3 separate regions of the Homo sapiens genome follow, and regions 1 and 3 are each linked to region 2. The links are contacts of gene promoters, found by promoter capture Hi-C in blood cells and fetal thymus (Javierre and others, 2016). All regions are on one chromosome and are shown on one strand. The core of a region is centred on a gene start or on the middle of the fragment in contact, and the rest is flanking DNA. Distances in the headings are between cores, read along the strand shown.

Evidence for each region. Contacts are between HindIII fragments. The CHiCAGO score rates a contact against its expected background, and 5 or more counts as called.
Region 1: a contact is called between a fragment that was not itself captured here and the fragment with the promoter of MMS22L in region 2, in 4 of 17 cell types (M0 macrophages, naive CD8 T cells, total CD4 T cells and 1 more). The highest score is 8.5, in M0 macrophages.
Region 3: a contact is called between a fragment that was not itself captured here and the fragment with the promoter of MMS22L in region 2, in 1 of 17 cell types (total B cells). The highest score is 5.9, in total B cells.

The regions. Positions count from the first base shown.
Region 1 is chr6:98,922,626-98,925,744 of GRCh38, reverse strand. All of the region lies in intron 4 of FBXL4 (F-box and leucine rich repeat protein 4), which reads left to right. Among named protein-coding and RNA genes, the nearest start is that of FBXL4, 24 kb to the left of the region's middle. The HindIII fragment of the contact is 5,637 bases long and covers 1-3,119 here.
Region 2 is chr6:97,281,763-97,284,990 of GRCh38, reverse strand. MMS22L (MMS22 like, DNA repair protein) reads left to right here and starts at 1,775. Exons shown (of 25, transcript NM_001350599.2): 1 at 1,775-1,895; 2 at 2,438-2,677. The coding sequence starts at 2,514. RefSeq lists enhancers at 1,499-1,558, 1,939-2,198. The HindIII fragment of the contact is 13,882 bases long and covers 1-3,228 here.
Region 3 is chr6:98,860,420-98,863,520 of GRCh38, reverse strand. No RefSeq gene overlaps it. Among named protein-coding and RNA genes, the nearest start is that of POU3F2, 27 kb to the right of the region's middle. The HindIII fragment of the contact is 330 bases long and covers 1,312-1,641 here.

The sequences.
Region 1 (3,119 bases), core at 309-2,808, 1.6 Mb before region 2:
AAAGTAAGCATATTTATCACACTGTTCTGTACCTTGTTTCACACAGTAGTATATGTTGGATCTTTTCTTGTAAGTACAAAGAGAGCTTCCTCATTCTTTCCTGCATTTGCAAGTAATGCATAGTGTGTATGAACCCCAACTTATTAACTAGTCCCCCATTGATGGGCACTTAGTTGTTTCTAGTCTTTTGCTCTTATAAACATTAATGCAGGGAATGACCTTATCATAAGTCACTTTGCATGTGTGCAAGTATATCTGTGGGATAAATTTCCTAGAAGAAGGCTACTCAACCAAGGATAATTTGATAATTTTGTAATGTTTAACATTTTTTTTTTGCATTTTAACAATTTATTCTTAGTTACATTTAATTTTAATTTTTAACAGTTGTAATTTTCATATGTAATGCCAAATTTCTCTCCAAAGAGTCTGTACTATTTATATTCCCACTAGCAGGGCATGTACATGGGTGTTTTGCCAAAGCCTCGCCTACAGAGTATGTTTATAAATTTCAATATTTTTGCAATTTAATAGGTGAAAAATGTTATCTCATGTTAACTGTTAAAATTCTTTTATTATCTCTGAGGTTGAAATCTTTTCATATGTTTAAAAGCCATTTATATTTCTTTTTCCTTTAACTATCTGATCATATTATTTGCTCATTTTTTCTATTACTCATGGATCTTAGCAGTTTCTAGGACTTCATATCACTTTATTAAATCACTCGTTCATTAAATATTTTAGTGCCTACCTAATGTGCTAGGTGTTGTTCTAGGTATTAGAGATGTGTCAGCGAGCAGTGAACAAAATAAATAAAAATTCCCGCTCTCATTCTAGCCTGAGAGCAGATCAGGGCACCTGTTCAACTGTAGGGATGGCCAGCTGCCAGTGCAGGAGGAGGCGGGCAGAGGTCAGCTGCTACCTCCGTAACATGCAGCTCCTCTGATATCTCTGTCCCCTCATCTCTAAGGGAATACTTCCAGGGCCTGCCAGAAAACATACAGAGTACAGCTCAACTTGGAGATTGCTGGTATAATCTTTACTTTTTTTTCCAGAACTACCTAATAATTCATTGCAAATAATGTTATTAGTCGTTTTTTAAACTCAGAAAGCCAGCATACCTTAATTAAAATCAGATTTTTGTTTTCTCCCTAAGAGGAAAAAATGGAGTAGGATCTTTTGTTTTGTTTTGAGACAGGGTCTCACTCTGTCGCCCAGGCTGGAGTGTAGTGGCACGATCTTGGCTCACTGCAACCTCTGCCTCTCGGGTTAATGAGATTCTCCTGCCTCAGCCACCTGAGCGGCTGGGATTACAGGTGCGTGCCACCATGCCTGGCTAATTTTTGTATTTTTAATAGAGATGGGGTTTCACCAGGTTGGGCAGGCTGGTCTCGAACTCTTGACCTCAGGTGATCCGCCTGCCTCGGCCTCCCAAAGTGCTGGAATTACAGATGGGAGCCACTGTGCATGGCAGGATCTTTTCTTATATGAGAATTGTTTTATTAGGACTCTGACATTCTTCTTACAAAGTTACCTACTTTTTTCCAAAAATCTGAAAAGATTTAGGGAGGAGATCAATGGAACATGTAATGTGTTTTCTCCAGTCTAAAACTTAACAGCTGCATAACTAATTTTAAGTACAAATCATGCTCTTGGGTTACTGAGAGTTACTGGTATATGGTTGTGATTAAAGTTAAAACTTTATTTATACCTGTATCTCTAATTTTCTTTACTGATTTTCAGCTTTAGTCTACTGAAAATACCATTACATTTTAAGAGAAAAAAAGGTGACCAATATATTATTAAGATATAAGAAAAAGCCTTTTTAAATTTTACTGATTATGAAATCAATAGATGTTTCATTGTTTAAAAATAATCTAGAAAATACCAAAAAAAAAGGAAAATATATATGAAAAAAATCTGTAATTCTTCTGCCCAGATTCAGTAACTGTTAACATTTGGGTGAATTTTTTATACAATCAGAAACATTTATTGAACACCCTCTCTGCCAGTTCACTGCTAGGAACCAAGTAGAGAGTCAGACAGAGATGGCTCTTTTTTGAGCTTACAGGCCAGCCTAGAAGAGGACCATGAGGAACATGTATTGGCAGAGGGGAGAACCTAATCTGTGGGCTCAGAGAAGGCTTCCCTGGGGAAGTGACTTACCTGGGACCTGAGGGTTGAGTGAGGCTCCAGTGTGGATAGGAAAGGAGGAGAGACAACAGCACATTTGAACGTGAGATCATGAGCTAAGATCATGGTGTTTGAAGAAGTGAGAAAAGTCCAAGAATGCAGAGAATAAGCTGTTGGCAACTGGAGACATGGGAGTAACATTCTTAAGATCTAAACTAGGGGTTTCTAGACTTTGGGATTTTATAGATTTTTTTGGATCCAGCTTCCCAGAAGAATATCTTGAGGTGACTATTCCTGTGCAATTTTTATGGAAATTTTTGTGGAAATTTTTTTATGAAGATACTCTAGGAGAAGCTAGTAAAGGAGTAGGGAAAGCATGATGGGAAAAATCAAGCAAGGATGCAATATCATGTGAAGTCCCAGTCTGCTGGGAGGCAAAGTTGCTAGAGAGCTGGGCCCTTATACTCCTGCACCAGCCAGACTTTTACCATGGGCTGGAAGGGTGGGAAAGGGGGACTGTCAATCTTCTAGGCACATGTCACTCCCTAGATGAAGCCCAAGGTAGTTCTGTGAAGAAGGTTGTAAGTGTAAACCCTTAGGAGCAAAGCAAGCCCATCTGCAGGGTGGCACATAGAACTGATGAGATGGGGGATGTGCATGTGAATGGAGTTCAGGTGGGAGGAGTCAGTCACAATAAACTAGTAACATAATAATCATCATAAAAATTAGGGAACTCATAGACTTGTCAGATTATTTACTTTGCTAAATTAACATACAGTAAAAAGACAAACAAAATGCCAATGTTACCTGTCATCACCATTATTTCATAAAAGTTTATGCATCTGTTCAAAAAAAATTAACCAGTGAAGAGCTTGGTCAATTCTGAGTTAAATGACAAAATCATGTTTTTTGGCCCACAAAGTCGAAAGGACAAGATCATGACAAATTTGTGAAATGATTACTCAAGCAACTCAGTTTATACCAAGAAA
Region 2 (3,228 bases), core at 526-3,025:
GTCAGGTTTCGATACCAGTGTGGTGCTAGCCTCATAAAACAAGCATCCAATCTCCTAATTTCTCTAAGAGTTAGTATAGAATTGGTATTACTCCTTCCTTAAATGTTTGGGAGAATTTAATAGTAAGGCCATTTGGCCTGGAGAGTGTTTGTTTGTTTTGTTGCTTTTGAGAAATGGTGTTGCTCTGTTGTCCAGGCTGGAGTACAATGGCACACTCACAGTTCACTGCAGCCTCGAACTCTCCAGCTCAAGTGATCCTCTCACCTCAGCCTCCCTAAGTAGTTGGGACTACAGATGAGCACCACCACGCCTGGCTAATATTTGTATTTTTTTTGTGGAGACAAGGGACAGGGTTTCACCATGTTGCCCAGGCTGGTCTGGAACTCCTGGTCTCAAGGGATCCACCTACTTCAGCCTCCCAAAGCCACTGTGCCTGCCCTGGCCTGAAGTTTTCTTGTAAGAAGTGGTGTGTGTGTGTGTGTGTGTGTGTGTGTGTGTGTGTGTGTGCAGAGAGAGAGGAGGGAGGCTTAACCAAAGATTCTGAGTACTACGATAAATACAGAGATACTCAAATTTTCTTCTTTTGTTGATTTTTGACAGTTTGCGTCTTTTAAGGAATTTGTCCATTTCACCTATGCTTATTGGCATAAAAATGTTCATAATGTTCTTTTAATATCCTTGTCCTTTTAATGACTAAATTTCATAGTGATGAAACCTTTTTAATTCCTGATACTGATAATTTGTTTATTTTCTTTATCAGTTTGGGTAGGGGGGTTATCAATTATATTGCTCTTTTAGAAAAACAACTTTTGCATGTATTTCCTTCCATTTATTTCATCCCATTTATTTCTACTATTTATCATTTCATTCATTTTGCTTGCTTTGGTTTCAATATGCTGGGGGTTTTTTCTAGTTACTTAAGACAAAAGTTTATTGAATTGAGTTCTTCTTTTTAATGTAAGCAGGTACTGTTACAAATTTTAGTGTTTTCATTTTAATTTAATTCAACGTATTTTCTAATTTTCCTGTGATTTTTCCTGATTCACAGGTTAGTTAGAAGTATGATTCTTAATTTCCAAATATTTAGAGTATTTCAAGTATCTACTTTATTTCTAGTTTAATGCCATTATGATCAGACTATACACTTTGTACGATTTAAATCTTTTTAAAGTTGATGACATTTGTTTTATGGCTCGGAATATGGTATCGCTTAGTGAATGTTTCATGTGCACTTGACAGGAGTGTGTATTCTGCTATTGTTGGGTTGGTCACCTATAAACGTCAATTAGGTCAAGTTGGTTAGTGCTTTCCAAGTTTTCCATATCCATACTAATTTTCTGTCTACTTGTTCCATCTGTTACAGAGAAAATTAATTGTTGCACTTGCCTGCCTCACAGTCCATGGACAAAAGGCATCTGCATTCTAACAAGAGTTGCTGGCCCCAGAGCGGGAAGAGGGGACGGCGCGACTGTGGGTGTGAACGAGGCACTCACTTCGCACTCACTGGAGTAAATATCTTCTCTTTGGTCCGGCCAGAGGATAAACCCATAGTCCTTAAGTCCTCTCCTCCGCCTCAGCAGCAGTTCTGTTTTTTTTTTTTTACCAGGCCCCGCCTTTCAGCCGAACGCACCAATTAAAGGTACAAAAAAAAAAGTTTCTCAGTACCTCGTCCCGGACTGACGGACTCTCGCGAGAATTCGTGGGGCTCCGACTGTTTCCGCGCAGATATCGCGAGGCGATTGGTAGCCGGGGGAGGGCTGCGCCGTGGCCCCGCCTTTCCGGAGCGCGGGCGCGCGGTGGCGGGAATTTCGCCTGTTTGCGGTTTAGACCCCAAAGATTCCTGTTGGTGGTCTGGGTCACAGGAGGCAGGTTTCGGGAGCTGGAAATGTGAGCGGGTACGACAGGCACCGCGGGTAACCGACGCCCCGGGTCCTTGCTGCAGCCGGGTACGCGGGATACCGGCACCCCGCCTTCTCCGCCCGAGTGCTGCCAGGCGTGGGCCTGGTGGGTCTCGCCTCCTCCTTGGAGGGTCGGGGTTGGCCCTAGGGGTTGCTTTCCTAATTTCCACCCCGAGCCGGGGAGGGAGCGTTCTCCACCCTGCTGCTGGGAAACGGGCGGAGAGTGGTTTAGAAACGTTGCGGAGGGCGCAGTTCTAGGCAAGCCCGGGACGCTATGTCCTGCAGACATTTCTTTGCTTTTCACCTTGTCCTGGGCTGCAGAGCCCGACTTAGTGGCCGGATTTCGAGGTCCCTGCCACAGCCAGTTGGTTGTGCATTTTGTCTTAAGTTCTGACAGCCTTGATGGACGGAGGGCGAGGGGGAATTGGGAATTTGGCCTCTGGGTTTGTTCGTTTGTTTTTCCTTCCTGCTGGCGGACGTCTTGAGAACTTTCTGAAGTAATCCCCACTCTCTCGGCCCCACCCCCCCCCCCCCAACAGGAATCTCTTCACACCTTCTCTTTGGAGCCCTTAATGATACGACGAACCCCAAGTGTTTCAGAACATGAAGTAAACAATGGAGAACTGTTCTGCTGCATCGACGTTCCTGACTGACAGCTTAGAGCTGGAGCTGGGGACGGAATGGTGCAAACCTCCTTACTTTTCTTGTGCTGTTGACAACAGAGGAGGAGGAAAACATTTTTCTGGAGAATCCTACCTCTGCAGCGGAGCCCTTAAGCGGTAGGTAAAACTCAGAGACATTTTCCCTCATCTGATTATTCACCAGTTTTTTAGGAATGTTAGTTATTTCAGCCCATTAAACTTTGGTGTTCACCAAGTCGTGTTTTATAAATCAGCTTAGTATATCATAAGGGTACAAATGATTATCAGTTCTGCTGGCTTCTTGGTAAGGGCATATCTAAAGTATTTGGGGTATTAGGGAAAACTTCCTTGGTAACTGATGTTCCCTTACTGTAGGGAGCTGGGCACTAATTTTTCTTCTACTTAAAATGAATTCCTAACTATCTGAGCCTTTTGCAGTAGTATTTCCTTCTAAAGAGTGTGATAATATTCTAGAGCTTTCCAGTAATATTTAAGAGAGACAAACATTTTTTATTGCCCCTGTTCCTTCTAATCCTACCTGCACATATAGAAGTGTATAGACTTATTTTGCCTTGGGCAGGTACATATATATTACAGTAAAACTGTTCTTGAAATATTTTGGTAATACCTGCTGAGGCAGTTTCAGTGAGGAAACTATTTTTGTTGACCTTATAGTTGTACCTTGTTAG
Region 3 (3,101 bases), core at 227-2,726, 1.6 Mb before region 2:
TTTCATTGTGTGGCTTGTTGGCTACTGTGGGTTAATTGCTCTGGCTGCACTTCAGGATGTGATTCAGGTTCAGGTTTACTCTATTCAGGCCCTGGGCTGAAAGAGAAGGTCCTACCTGGGCTATGCCCTTGTAGTGGCAGAGGGCACTAAAGCAAGAGAACTGGCAGCACTGGGAAATGCATTGAAAAGCTCATCAAGTCTGTTTGCATTGTGTTGACCAAGCAAGTCATGTGGCTAAACCCAGTCATTGGTCAGCAAAGCTACTCTTCCTATAGGGAACTATTGTAAGTCACATCCAAAGGTTTTGGGAACAAATAATTCTGAATAATAATACCCAAGGTACTACAATGTACTACAAATATTTCAGCTTTCTGTAAGTAGCCAAAATATCTTAATATAAAACAAAATAACCTCTTAATTTTAAAAAAATAAGTATAATATTGAATACACTGGTTTAGGTTCAGAATTTTTAGAAAGATCCTCACTGTAAGATTTTCCCAAATAATCACCTAATTCCATGGGAAATAAAAAATAGGATAAACTAATAGAAATATTTCTGAAACAAGAGTCATGAGGAATCCATAATCAACTGTGCTACCTTTTGACTATTTAACTTTGCATCTCAACTTCCTCATCTGTAAACTAAGAAAGTTGTTCCACACTTTTACACTGTTGGCGAGACTGTAAACTAGTTCAGCCATTGTGGAAGTCAGTGTGGTGATTCCTCAGGGATCTAGAACTAGAAATACCATTTGACCCAGCCATCCCATTACTGGGTATATACCCAAAGGATTATAAATCATGCTGCTACAAAGACACATGCACACGTATGCTTATTGCGGCACTATTCACAATAGCAAAGACTTGGAACCAACCCAAATGTCCAGCAGTGATAGACTGGATTAAGAAAATGTGGCACATATACACCATGGAATACTATGCAGCCATAAAAAATGATGAGTTCATGTCCTTTGTAGGGATATGGATGAAGCTGGAAACCATCATTCTCAGCAAACTATCACAAGGACAAAAAACCAAACACCGCATGTTCTCACTCATAGGTGGGAATTGAACAATGAGAACACATGGACACAGGAAGGGGAACATCACACTTTGGGGCCTGTTGTGGGGTGGGGGGAGGGGGGAGGGATAGCATTAGGAGATATACCTAATGTTAAATGACAAGTTAATGAGTGCAGCACACCAACATGGCACATGTATACATATGTAACAAACCTGCACGTTGTACACATGTACCCTAAAACTTAAAAGTATAATAATAATAAAAAAATAAAAATTGTTCCAAAAGCTTTCTGAGGTCATTCTCAGTGTAAAGGTCTCATTCTAATGCTTTTTTATTGTCACCTAATTAACAAAGCATATCCTTCTGCAATTTTTATTATAGTTTAGCTCAGTTTTTCTTAGAATTATGGCAGAGCAATAAAACTTTAATTTTCTTTTATTCAAATCCCTCTTCAAAAATGGATTTGAGATAAAGTAATAAGATATGATCTTCCTTGTTTTTACTTAGTATTCAAATAGTGGAACCTAGCTTTAAAATAGTCAAGTCACTAAAATACTCTTCCTTTACAGTGAGAGTCACTGATACAAACATGTATGTGTAAGAACCATGTGGAAGCTTGTTTAAAATGTAAATTTCCAGTCCACAAACGCCTGGAGATTCTGATACTACAAAGAACCCAGAAAACTACATTTTTAACAAGTACCCCAGGTTTCCAAAGTGACCTAAGCAGTACAAACCATATAAATTATTTTGGTAATAGTGGGGAAAAAAAAACTTTCACATGCTGGGATACTACATACTTAGTATAATTAAAATTAGTTGTTAATACCATGTGTCTCATTGGTGTTTGTATTTTATCTTTATGAATTAATTTTTGTCACTACATTTAGTGTATTGGACTATACACTAGTCCAGTGCTATAAATTATCACTATAAGTGATGGTATTATGTTTGTATATAAATTTTAGAAATGTAGAAACCAAAATACCTTAATGTTTGAAATGAAAGTGCTTTGATTAGTATTAGCATTCCCCAGAAACATACAGGGTAGGTCAATCTCAGAATGAAATACTATGAAATGAGAACTACTGTTGAGTTATTACATCCAATCTCTTTGCTTCTTCCTTGTTTCCTTACAATCTAGTGCTCCTTTTAAAACATAGTCAGATTATGTCATTTCTGTGCCTAAAACCCTTCCGAATAAAAACCAAAGCCCTTTATCTTTGCTACCTGTAAAACTTATGTCCACAGCTCCTTCCCCTACCCCTATCCCCACCCCCAGCTCTCTGTACTATGCTCCTTGCTGAAATGCTCCGCTTAAAGTGCTCTTCCCCATATATCTTCACCACTCCAGGTCTCACTTTTTTCAGGTGTCTGCTCAAATATTGCCTATGCACAGAGGCCTTTATTGACCACCCAAAATAAAACAGCATATTCCCCTCTCCTCATCAATCACTAGCCCTTGTAACTTGCTATATTTTTATTTATAGCACTTATAACTATTTGACATGTTTTCGTTTGTGTCCACTCCTCTATAATTTTAAGCTCCTCAAGCACAAGGACTTTTGTCTTGGCACTGCTATATTGCCAGGACTTAGAATAGTGTCTGGCACATAGTAGGTACTCAATAAATAATTGTTTGACAAATACTGGTGATTATCCACAGCTTGGCCTGTCTCCAGTATAAGGCAAGGCTATTAAAATCCAAATTTTATAAAGTAGGCAATGTTTTTAAAGGCAGTTTTATTTTCTGTTAATTTCCCATCTATTTTGAAAGTCATTTTAATTTATTACTTTCAGAATTATCCCTTTTGCAAACTCTATTCTTTCCATCTTTTTCTTGTCTGTTTTTCAAATATATGAGATAATTTATTTTGAATTATGGCAATTGAAAGTTGATATTTAATTTCAACGGGTTTTAATTACTTATTTGAAATACGAAACTCCAACTATGAATTCAATGTAGTGAAAGGCACCAGATTTACATTCCCATAAAACTGAACACTTGACTTTCATGGCGTACATATATGGGAAAGGTGTATGGATGGCTAATAACATTCAGGATTTCCTCTGAAAA